Linked DNA regions of Homo sapiens: regions 1 and 3 are each linked to region 2. The links are contacts of gene promoters, found by promoter capture Hi-C in blood cells and fetal thymus (Javierre and others, 2016). All regions are on one chromosome and are shown on one strand. Each heading gives the region's core, a stretch centred on a gene start or on the middle of the fragment in contact. The rest is flanking DNA. Distances are from core to core; before and after follow the strand shown. Region 1 holds the start of LOC101927048 (a long non-coding RNA gene). Region 2 holds the start of CRISP3 (cysteine rich secretory protein 3). Region 3 overlaps CRISP1 (cysteine rich secretory protein 1).

What was found. The method cuts DNA at HindIII sites, captures the fragments that hold promoters and counts their contacts. A CHiCAGO score of 5 or more calls a contact.
Region 1: a fragment that was not itself captured here is called in contact with the fragment with the promoter of CRISP3 in region 2 in 1 of 17 cell types (erythroblasts); the score reaches 10.3 in erythroblasts.
Region 3: a fragment that was not itself captured here is called in contact with the fragment with the promoter of CRISP3 in region 2 in 1 of 17 cell types (erythroblasts); the score reaches 11.1 in erythroblasts.

The regions. Positions count from the first base shown.
Region 1 is chr6:49,824,616-49,828,316 of GRCh38, forward strand. LOC101927048 (a long non-coding RNA gene) reads right to left here and starts at 151. Exons shown (of 5, transcript NR_110843.1): 1 at 1-151. The HindIII fragment of the contact is 2,934 bases long and covers 901-3,701 here.
Region 2 is chr6:49,742,487-49,746,336 of GRCh38, forward strand. CRISP3 (cysteine rich secretory protein 3) reads right to left here and starts at 1,902. Exons shown (of 8, transcript NM_006061.4): 1 at 1,845-1,902. The coding sequence starts at 1,881. The HindIII fragment of the contact is 5,260 bases long and covers 1-3,205 here.
Region 3 is chr6:49,845,185-49,848,662 of GRCh38, forward strand. It overlaps CRISP1 (cysteine rich secretory protein 1), which reads right to left. Exons shown (of 8, transcript NM_001131.3): 4 at 3,025-3,115; 5 at 1,336-1,484. Among named protein-coding and RNA genes, the nearest start is that of CRISP1, 20 kb to the right of the region's middle. The HindIII fragment of the contact is 2,184 bases long and covers 166-2,349 here.

The sequences.
Region 1 (3,701 bases), core at 1,118-3,617, 83 kb after region 2:
AGAGGATTATGCCAGGAATGGTGGTGCACTCCTATAGTCCCAGATACTCAGGAGGCTGAGGCAGGAGTAATACTGGAGCCCGGGAGTTCAAGGCTCTAGTGCACTATGATCGTGCCTGTAAGTAGTCACTGCACTCCGGCCTGGGTAACACAGCAGGACCCTCACCTCTGAAAAACAGAGGGAGAGAGAGAGAGAGAAAGAGACAGAGAGAGAGAGAGAGGATCATGCATTATGCAAAACAGCTAAGATTTAAGACACATACCTAGAAACATCACAATGAATTTAAATAACACAGCAAGAAGGAAAATTGTTTAAAGTTTTCAGAAAGGAAAAATAAGTCACATATAAGAGAAAAGACCTAGATGGATGTCTAGTTTTCAAAATACTCCTGGGTATTTTAAACAACTTTGTTAAGTAATTGCAGCTATATTTTATACTTTGAATGATTGCAGTCATGACAGGCATGTTACAATGGCTTCTTTGTACATAATATACATTACTTTTTATATTTGTTTAGCAGCTCCTTTTATCAGGTTTAATAATTTCACTTCCATTCTTAATATATTAGGAAATATCAAGAGATTAGTCCAATTAAAATTTATTAGCCAGTATGAATGAAGAACACGTTAAAACTCTATTAAACAGATTTTTTAAAAAATCTGGAAAAATAACTGACATACATGTTCATGGGTGAGATGGTCTGGCAATGAAAGAAGCAAATTTTTCTCAAACAATCTATAAATAAATACAAAGACAATCATAATCCATAGGATTTTTAGAGGGTGGATAGATGAACATATTGTAAGTTTTAAATGGGAAAATAAGAACTTTTTAATAGGGAAATTTAAGAAAGATAATAAAAGAAGCCCCTCACCCTATCAGATATTAAGACAAATATGAAGCTTGAATATTGAAATCACAGAGAAAAAGGCATAGAATGATTATTCTATGAACTAGAGATTATTATGTTAAGTGAAATAATCCAGGCACAGAAAGATAAACATCACATGTTCTCACATTTGTGGGATCTAAAAATCATAGCAATTGAACCAATGGACATAGATAATAGAAGGATGGTTACCAGAGGCTGCGTAGGGTAGTTGGGGGTTGGGGAGCAGGTAGGGGTGGTTAATGGGTACAAAAATAGCTAGAAAGAATGAATAAGTCCTACTGTTTGATAGCACAATAGAGTGACTATAGTCAATAATAATTGTACATTTTAAGATAATTTAAAAGAGTGTAATTGGATTGTTTGTAACTCAAAGGATAAATGCTTGAGGAGATGAATACCCCATTCTCCATGATGTGCTTATTTGACATTGCATGTCTGTATCAAAACATCTTATGTACCCCATAAATATAGACACCTACTATATATACACAAAACATAAAAATCAAATAAATAAATAAATGAAAAGAGAAAATAGTTTATAGGGTAAATAATATTTGATAAATTATCTTACTGTAAGGGGAAAAGTAGAAAAATAGATCCTCAGCTAACCTAAATTATTTTTAAAAATATTATAATATATGAAATATGTTGTAGGAAAGAATTCAGGAGCAAAGAAAACTGCAGGTCCAGGAGTTTCTACGAGTACATGCTCATGTAAAGGGGTTTATGGAAGAAAAGTTAAGACATTTTTAACAAACAGATGAAGACTACTAAAGGAGGTGAAAACCTGAAAGATGAATATTAATATACAATTAATAGCAAATGGGTAACTTATGACCATATTTAAAAAAAGCTCAAATTACTTGTATTTGTTCAAAACAAAATGGTTTGTGCATTAAACAGATATTATTAGATATTGCTTGTTGAAAATATTACCATGGTTCAGATTATACTGGAGAAATCCTTTGTTGTTTCTTTGTGGCATTGTTTTATCTTTTAAGTTATCTTTTCCAATAGACTGTGTCCATATTTATATTAGTGGTACCATCAATAAATACGCTACCTTCAGCATTTTAGAATTTTCTGAAGGCAACTGAAAAGCAGGAGCTTGACTCGCGAATGATCACATACTGTAGGTGCTTCTTCTTCGTATATTTGCAATTTTTATACAGTATAGATGCTGAACTATAACATTCCATATAAGTAGTTTGCAAATGCGCTTGACAGAGTAATAATTGTTTTAAAGAAAATAACAAAGATTCATAACAAATAGAAATAGACAATACTAATAAAAGGATGCCTCAAACGTTTAGTTCTTTATTGTTCAGTTGAGAGCAACTTCTTGACAGAATTTTTTCTATCGAGAGGGTTTACACATACCATATGCCATAGTGATTTGTCAGCTTACAAATATGTTTCATAGCCCTGAACCACAGTGAAGAACTTTTTACCCAGATTTTAAAGCCCCACCAATTAGAAGAATTGCTTGTGATATATATAGCAGGTCAGGAAACCTCTGTTTTCTTGCATCTGTAGATAATTGACCTGCTACACGGCGAACTTAAGCAAAATCTTAATTCATTCAAGCAAAAAAATGCAGGTTCACTTAGTGGTAGGGTAATGGCCAAGATAGAGGAGCCACATTCTCTCAGGTCCTCCTTCTTAAAACTGAAAAACTTGAGCATACATAACAAACAAGCATAGGAAGACTCTAGAAGTGAAACTAAGAAAGCAGACTGTGTAAGGACCTTGGACTTGAGTATCAGCATGAAAATGACTTCTCTGAGTTTCCTTTTTGCTTCCCATATATACTAGACAGAGCACTGCAGAAGTCTCAACCCCAGAACCACTAACAGGATCAGACAAAAATTAAAACAAACAAACCGAAACAGAACAAGGGAAGCCTGCTCAACTCAGCCAAAGGGTTAAGAAGGGTGAAATAATAAAAAAGAAAAAAATTTTTAGCCATAACTGTCTGACTCCAGACAGACAATGAAAAGACTGTCCACAAAATGCTTGGAATGGCTTCAGTAGAACTCAGCACAGGGGCCATAACACCTTACAAACTTCTGAAAAATTAAAGCCAATGAAAAAATTTAATAGAGAGAAACAATATATAACTATGGAGGAATAACAATTTTAGTGACAGTAGATTTCTCTTCTGAAACCACAGAGTTCAGAAGAGAGTGGCGTGCTTTACAAATGCTTAAAAAAATGATTAATCCTGAATCCTATATCCGGTGAAAGTATACTTCAGGAATAAAGGGAAAATAAAGGCATTCTCACATAAAGAACAGTCAGATAATTTATTTGTAAGCCTACTCTTAAAGGAAGGCTAAAGGATGTTCTCTAGATAAAAATTAAAAGAGATGATAAGAGAAGTTTTAAAAATTCAGAAAAGAAAATATCAGAATGGATAAAAATGAGAGTTAAATACAAGAGACTTTTCTCTTCATGATTTTCTTAAAATATTTGTTGGTTGAAGCGAAAATTGTTACACCACACATGGTGATGTTTAGTATATGTAAAGTTAGTACTTAGTATAAATATATTGTTAAAGTGGGAGGGAAAGGTACCTAAATAAAAGTGAGGTTTCTACCCTTCACTCTAAGTGACAAAATATCAATACAAGTAGACTGATAATTTAAGTATATATATAGTACACACACACACACATATATATGTAGAGTAACCACTAGGAGAAACTATACAAAGTGATACACACATTAAAATTAAAACACATTAAAAATGTGCAAATAACTCACAGGAAGGCAAGAAAAGAGAAACAGAGGAACAACAAACAGAGAAA
Region 2 (3,850 bases), core at 652-3,151:
CCGGGCATGGTGGTGCATGTCTGTAATCCCAGCTACTGGGGAGGCTGAGGCAGGAGAATTGCTTGAAACTAGGAGGTGGAGGTTGCAGCGAGCCGAGAGTGTGCCACTGCACTCCAGCCTGGGCGACAGAGCAAGACTCCATCTCAAAAAAAAAAAAAAAAAAAAGGAAGAAGAAAAGAAAAAGAAAAAAAAGAAAGAATTAATTGGGTTATCTTTTCATATTAGTTATTAAGATAGACTTCAAACATTTGTTGACAAAAATTTAATATTATTGTAGGAACAGATAAATCAACTGGTGGAGGAAAATACAAAACTTAAGAGACAGACCAAACATCGTAACATTAAAAAGCAAAGGAGGAAGAACAGACTATAGAAATATTTTAAAGGATTACGTGGATTAGAAAAGATGTCAAAAGCATTAACACATGTGAGTATAATGTGTGCACTATAGGTATAGACACATTTATAAACTAGTCACAGCACAGAAAAGTATTTGATGCAATATTTTCTTACTTAAAATTTAATAGTTAATCTTTATTCTGATCACTTTCTTTCATCTTATTATGTATCTGTGATACAGAAAGCAGCCTATGCCAATATGCAAAGTTTGCAAAACTGCTAGACTTCATCAAGTAAGAAATTCGTAAAGATATCCAAATAAGAATAGCTGTCTTGCATTTCTTGAGAAGCACTTTTTTTTCAAGGATGAATTCCCTCCCTTTTACTTGAATTCAATAAATAACGTAACTGAAATTCATAGCAATTATCAGATTTACATTACTTGAGAATTCTGACACTCTTCCTCCCAATTCATCCCTGCCTGTTACAAATCAGAAGCCCCAATTTACCTCATAACTTATCAATGTAGGGTAACTCCCAGGCTTGAAACTTGTCATCAATTTAATTTCTTTTGATCCACTTTCAGAGGTCTTAGTCATACAGGCAGACATTCTAGATTTGGTTTTAACTAGCAGAAGAGGCAACACCGGATCTTCTATGGCTATTGCAAATACTCCCAGAGTTTCCTGGATAGCATTTAGCCACAGGGAAGAAAAGCATTTTACTTTAAAATCTTCTGTCTAGTGGTAAATAACCCCTTTCATGTTGTCATTAGGTAGTTCTGTGGTCTCCTACTATCTGACTCTTCAGAATCACTTCTAATATGCTACGGAAGATAAAGCCGTATGTGGAAATTGCTTCCTTAGATGAAATATGCACGATAGATATTATATTTAAATTACCTACATAAACATGACTGAGTAGACTGACTTTTGACTGAAAAACTTCTAAAAGCCTTTTTTTTTTGTTTTTGATCTGAGTGCATTTCATGAGGTAAATTGCATTTTATGTTGATGGTCTTTAATAAAATACTTTTTAATCTTGAGATCAGTGCTATAATTTTGTTTTGACCAATTTAAAACTTTTGCTATGGCATCCCATATAGCTGTATGTTTTAATATTAGTAAAAGTTACTGATGTGAAAGTATGCACACACATATATTCATAGTTTTTCATTTTTCTATTAAAAATAGTTCTAGTACAATTGTTTCCACAAGTCATAGACATGGGAATTAGTTATATTACTTTAGAATGAAAGGTAAAAATTTATTTAAATTTCAAACTGGATAAAAGTGCTTTTGGAATAATAAAGCTGTCTATGTATTAGCTTCTCAGCTTAAAATGAATATATTAAGATAATTACTCTCATTAAAAGTTATCAATAAACTTTGGAAAATTGTAGATAAAATATACGAATATATCACTTTATCATTGATAAGGTATAAATGTGTTGTTCACCTTGAAATAAATAATGTTCACCTTGAAATAAAGGAGTTATCACTTACCAGTGGTTTCCAGAGCAGGATGAAGTATTTGTTTCATCTATTGACAGAAGGAAGGTGCAGAGAGAGAAGGTTAGAGCCGTATATATGAAACACCTATTTCCTGTTTTGGCAAATTCTGGTTGTGCAAGTAACTCTAGATCAACAAGGCCTGAAACAGGATTTGTCATACCAGTAGTCTCAAATTTCATTGCTGGTTTTCTAGTCATGATTTTGAAATTATTTGGTGATTCCTCAAATGGCTTTTAAAAATAAATTGCTATATCAAGTTTTGTAATTGTGCATTTATTCTTTGAAGTTCATATATTACAATTTATCCATGTTTTTGCCAGTCAATAGTTTGAAAATTCTTAGCCCAATTATTAGCATCACAACATTAGAGTTTTCAGAATTATTTCTGTTGGATTGAAATTAAGCTCATAATTTTTATGAACTCTAGAGAACACAATGTTTTTTACAGCTATCTAAAATGTTTATTAATAATCTATTGGACATTACTGTTTTGGATAATAATTTTATCTTTAATGTTTGTAAATACAAGGCCACAGTGACTTTCAGAACTCAATGGCCAAACACACCATAACTCATTGGTATTTCTATATTCAAAGATGTGCTGTATTTACTTGTATTTTCTGGTTGTATAAAATTAAAGATAATATTGATCTCCAAGCTAAATTATCATTATTTGGTTCTGTTCATCTATGGAAGATGTCAATCATTCCAGGCTTGTTTCCATAGCACAATAATGAAGTGGGGTGGACTAACAATTTCAGATTTCCTCTGATTCTAAAATACAATAATCTTAAATATTGAGTTTATATAAATAAAGAAGTATAAATTAATAAATCACAAGTAGCATATACATAGCACGCAGACATTTCTGCATGCTCATATTGGCATATAGATTGCACCTTGTGGTGCATAATTCAATAGTTTCTGTTCATTTTCATTTTTATATTTAGCTTTATTGATCAATGTGACAAAATGTATAATCACAGATCAATGTCTACACAATAGGCACATTTTAAAATTATAGTTAATTTTGAGTTCAAGAATTGGATACTTCTAAATGTCTGTTATAAGAGAGTTGAGAACTCAGAAACTCAGGTCAGATTTTACCATTAAAAAATGGTTAACCATTTGCTGCCATGTCTCCAAGTAACTCCTAGAATCTGTTTACTTTATGAACATGTGAAGTGGAAGCTCTCAATAAACCAAATCAGCTATGTGGAAAAAATCACCATGGAACAACCTTCTACACAATCCTCTTTCTGTGGCAAAATGTATTTTGTGGGGAAGGACCAGACCCAGAAGCATCCACAGCCCATTCTCTTCTCTACTTAGTGGTGTAGAATGTTGTTAAAAGCTTGATATTTCTGTTTTAATGGAAATGGGCTAAATTTCTATACCAATGTGTATTGGGAAATTTTTATATTTTATTATTTTATTTTATATCATATTTTATTTTATTTGAAGCAGGATCTCACTCTATCATCCAAACTGGAGTGCAGTGGTTAGATCAGAACTCATTGTAGCCTTGAATTTCTGGGCTCAAGGGATCTCCTATTTCAGCTTCCCAAGGAGCTGAGACCATGGTGTGCACTACTATACACAGCTAATTTTTTAAATTTTTTTGTAGAGACAGAGTCTTGCTATGTTGCCCAGCTAGTGTCGAATTTCTGGCTTCAAGCAATCCTCCTGTCTTGGCCTCCCAAAGTTCTGGACTTACAGGCATGAGCCACAGCACCTACTTTATTAGGAAATTATTATTCTGATTGTAAATTTTCATATTTATCATAAATGGGAATAATATTAATTGTATTTAATTGTGATACATAATATATGTAAGCTGCCTGCCATGTAGTAAGTATTTCCAGTGTTAATTCTCTCCCACTTTATGCACTTTTCTTCTGTATCTAGACAAACCTACCCCTAATATTTGTAAGCTGTGGGATTGCACTTGAGTTTTAGGACATGGTTTGACTTACTAAGCTATAGGCAGTTCTGTG
Region 3 (3,478 bases), core at 8-2,507, 100 kb after region 2:
CTTGGGCCCTGTTCCAGTAGGATTTGTGTCCTTACATGAACAGATGCTAGACAGCTTGCTCTTATGGTCTCTCTTGTCTCTGTCTCTATCCTTGACTCTCTCTGGCTCCTCTTTTGCACTGGGGAGAAGCCATGTTAGGACATTGTGAGAAGGTGTCAGGCAGAAAGCTTTCACTAGAAACTATGCTCTATTAAGATCATAGACTTCTAGGATACAAAATGTGGGAAAATAAAGTTCTGTTGTTTAATCCACCCAGCTGTGGTATTTTGTTATGGCATCCTAAGCAGATTAATAGAGCAAAGATGTGAAGAAATTGCAAATTTTGTAAATTGCTGGTGGGAACGTAAAATGGTGCAGCTGCAACAGAAAATATAATAGTACTCCAGTTTTTCAAATAATAAACACAGTATTCACATATGATCCAGTAATTCCTCTCCTTGGCATATGCCCAAAACAATTGAAAGCAAGCACTCAAACAGATATTTTCACACCAATATTTAAAGCAGTATTATTCACAATAGCCAAAAAAAAAAATGGAAACAACTCAAATGCCCATCAGAACAGACAAGCAAAAGGTGATATACACATGCAATGAAATAGCATTTAGCCTTAAAAAAAAGAATACAATTCTGACACATGCTACAACATGGATGAACATGGATTTAATATATCATGCTGAGTGAAATAAAGCAGACACAAAAGGACAAATATTGTATGTTTCCAAATTTATGAGGTACTTTGAGTAGTGAAATTCACAGAGACAGAAAGTAGAGTGGTAGTTGCCAGAGGTCTGGGGAAGTAGGGAGAGGAATGGAAGGTATTGTTTAATGAGTACAGAGTTTCGGTTTGGGAAAATGAAAATATTCTGGCGATGGCGTTGCACAACGATTTGAGTGGACTTATTGCCACTGAACATTCATGCCACATTAATGCTGAACATGAAACCATTTAAAATAGTTAAAATGGTAATTTTTTAAATGTATATCTTACCACAATAAAACTAAAGTTAGAAATCAGGGGTTTCTCTGTATTGTAAGGTACCATTATTTTCACTTTTACAAATACTACCAATATCAAATGAGATTGATGTCTTATGATTTTGTGAGTTCCTGAAAAATCTAGTGAGTAAAGAAGGATACTAAGAGGTTAAGCATCTTCTCTAAGTCGTATTTTGAACAGAACACTTCCTTCTATTTCAAATTATAAGAGGAACTCAGTAAATTGAGTAAAGATTGCCATAAGAAGGTAGAATGATTTTCAGTTGTTTCTTAGTTACGTTTCCACACACATGCTTATCTCTTAAACAATGTGTGTGTTTGCCAGCACACAGGTTACCTGAGTGTAGTGGTCAGTAGTTATGTCATCATCCGTTGTTGTCCATTCTCCATGTTTGAAACTTGTAGACTCACTGTACCAGACTCCAATTACACTTGACCATGATACAGGATAAGATGTCATATGCATATTTTCTCCACAAAAGGTATCTGAAATGAGAAAACGGGCTGGGTCATACTCTGAACAAATGGGAAATAGTATACAAGGAGACTTTCCTCATTTTTATTTTATGAATGGTTCACTGATCATCTTGACAACATCTTCTGAGAGGGAGTAAAATAAGTTGTATCCCCACTGAAAATCTTTCTCATTGATGAATGAGCATGTGGTACTCAAGTTTGGTGAAACGTTGATAGTAGGTGATGAACAAGTTTTGAAATCAAATCATCAACATTTCAGTCTCTGCTGCTTCCAAGCTGCTTTAGATAGGTGAAACCAAATCAGAGAAGCATAAGAGTGCTAACAGGGTCTATGGCTTAAAGGAAGCTACACACAGGTGTTCATAATACAAAGATGTTGAATAAACATTTGTTTATTTAGCCATTCATGTATGGTGTGGGCTTTTGGTTGAACATGGTATTCAGGAGTATCTGTCTTTTCTTAAGGCAGGCAGGAACCACTTTGCTAATTCACTGCTAAAAAGCATTGGACTAAGATTCCAAATAATCTGTAGATATAAATGTGAATCAGCATTTTTAAAACATGTTAATTAAAAAAAGATTCTCATGTTAAAATATAATGTTTATTCCTGAGTGAAGGTGATATAGTTTGGATGTCCCCTCCAAATCTCATGTTGAGATGTAATCCCCGTGTTGAAGGTGGGGCCTGACCGGAGACGTTTACCTCACGGTAGTGGATTCCTCAAAGAACTTGGTGCTGTCTTCATAATGGTGAGTGAGTTCTCATGAGATCTGGTTGTTTAAAAGTATGTGGCACCCCCCAACTCTCTCTCTCTTGCTCCCTCTCTCACCATGTGAGACACTTGCTCCCCCTTCACCTTCTGCCATGATTGTAAGCTTCCTAAGGTCTCACCAAAAGCCAAGTAGATGTGGGTGCCATGCTTCCTGTACAGCCCGCAGAGTCATAAGCTAATGAAATCTCTTCTTAATAAATTACCAAGGCTCAGGTATTTCTTTACAGCAACACAAAAACAGCGTAACACAGAAGCAATAATGTTTTTTTTTATTATTTCCTGGAAACTAGCAGTAAGTTACCTAATTTATATGCTTTAAGATGGGCTCATTTTTGAGCACCTAAAATTGTCTTATGGGCAGCTGAGCAGGGCTGCATATAACTTATTTCTCAACTGCATTATCGTTCCAAAGCTAAGCAGATCCCCATGGTGCTATTGTTCAGTAGCTATAGTAACTCCACAGAATGGAGACCTAGGTTTCTAGCTGCTCACTCCACTCTTCTGCAATACTGAGATTTTTTATTCATTTCTCCTGATGGTCAGAACTTGGAATCTGAAAACTCCAGAACTTGGAATCTGAAAACTTAAAGATATAAACCTTAAAAATTAATGAGTTAAAACAGTGTAATAGTCCACAATTCACTGCCTTGTATGACCCAGTGCAAATGAGGAAATCTAGATGACTTAATTTACTTTCATCAGGGTACATAACAATCCCTGTTTTACTATTTTTTTTTTTTTTAGTCCAAAGGCGGGTCATATAGATACACACTTACTTGGAAGTCTCCTCTCAAGGGGGTTGCTCTCTGTCATATCACAATACTTTGAAAAAATTCTGGCATTTTGTGCAGCCTCTTCACTCCAACTCTGTAGTGGAAAGAAAAAAAAAGCACATGTTCCAATTAATATTTTCATAAGATTCTAATTTATTGTTTTTAATAATCCACGAGATATAATATCTTCAATTGTATCAACTAGAAATTTAAATAATGAGATTACTATTAAACGTTCTAGTAGAAAGAGAAAGACAACAATTTCAATTTATTATGTTGGCCCTTGAATTCACAAATTCAAAACTTGGTAATTACATTCAGAGATAGATTCTCTCTCAGATGTAGTAGAGAATTTAAGTAAATGCTTCCAGGGAAACAGACCAGAGTTACTTAGTAATTTATTTGTAGTTTAAACTCAGACATGTTATTTTATCTCTTTGAATCTCAGTTTATCCAT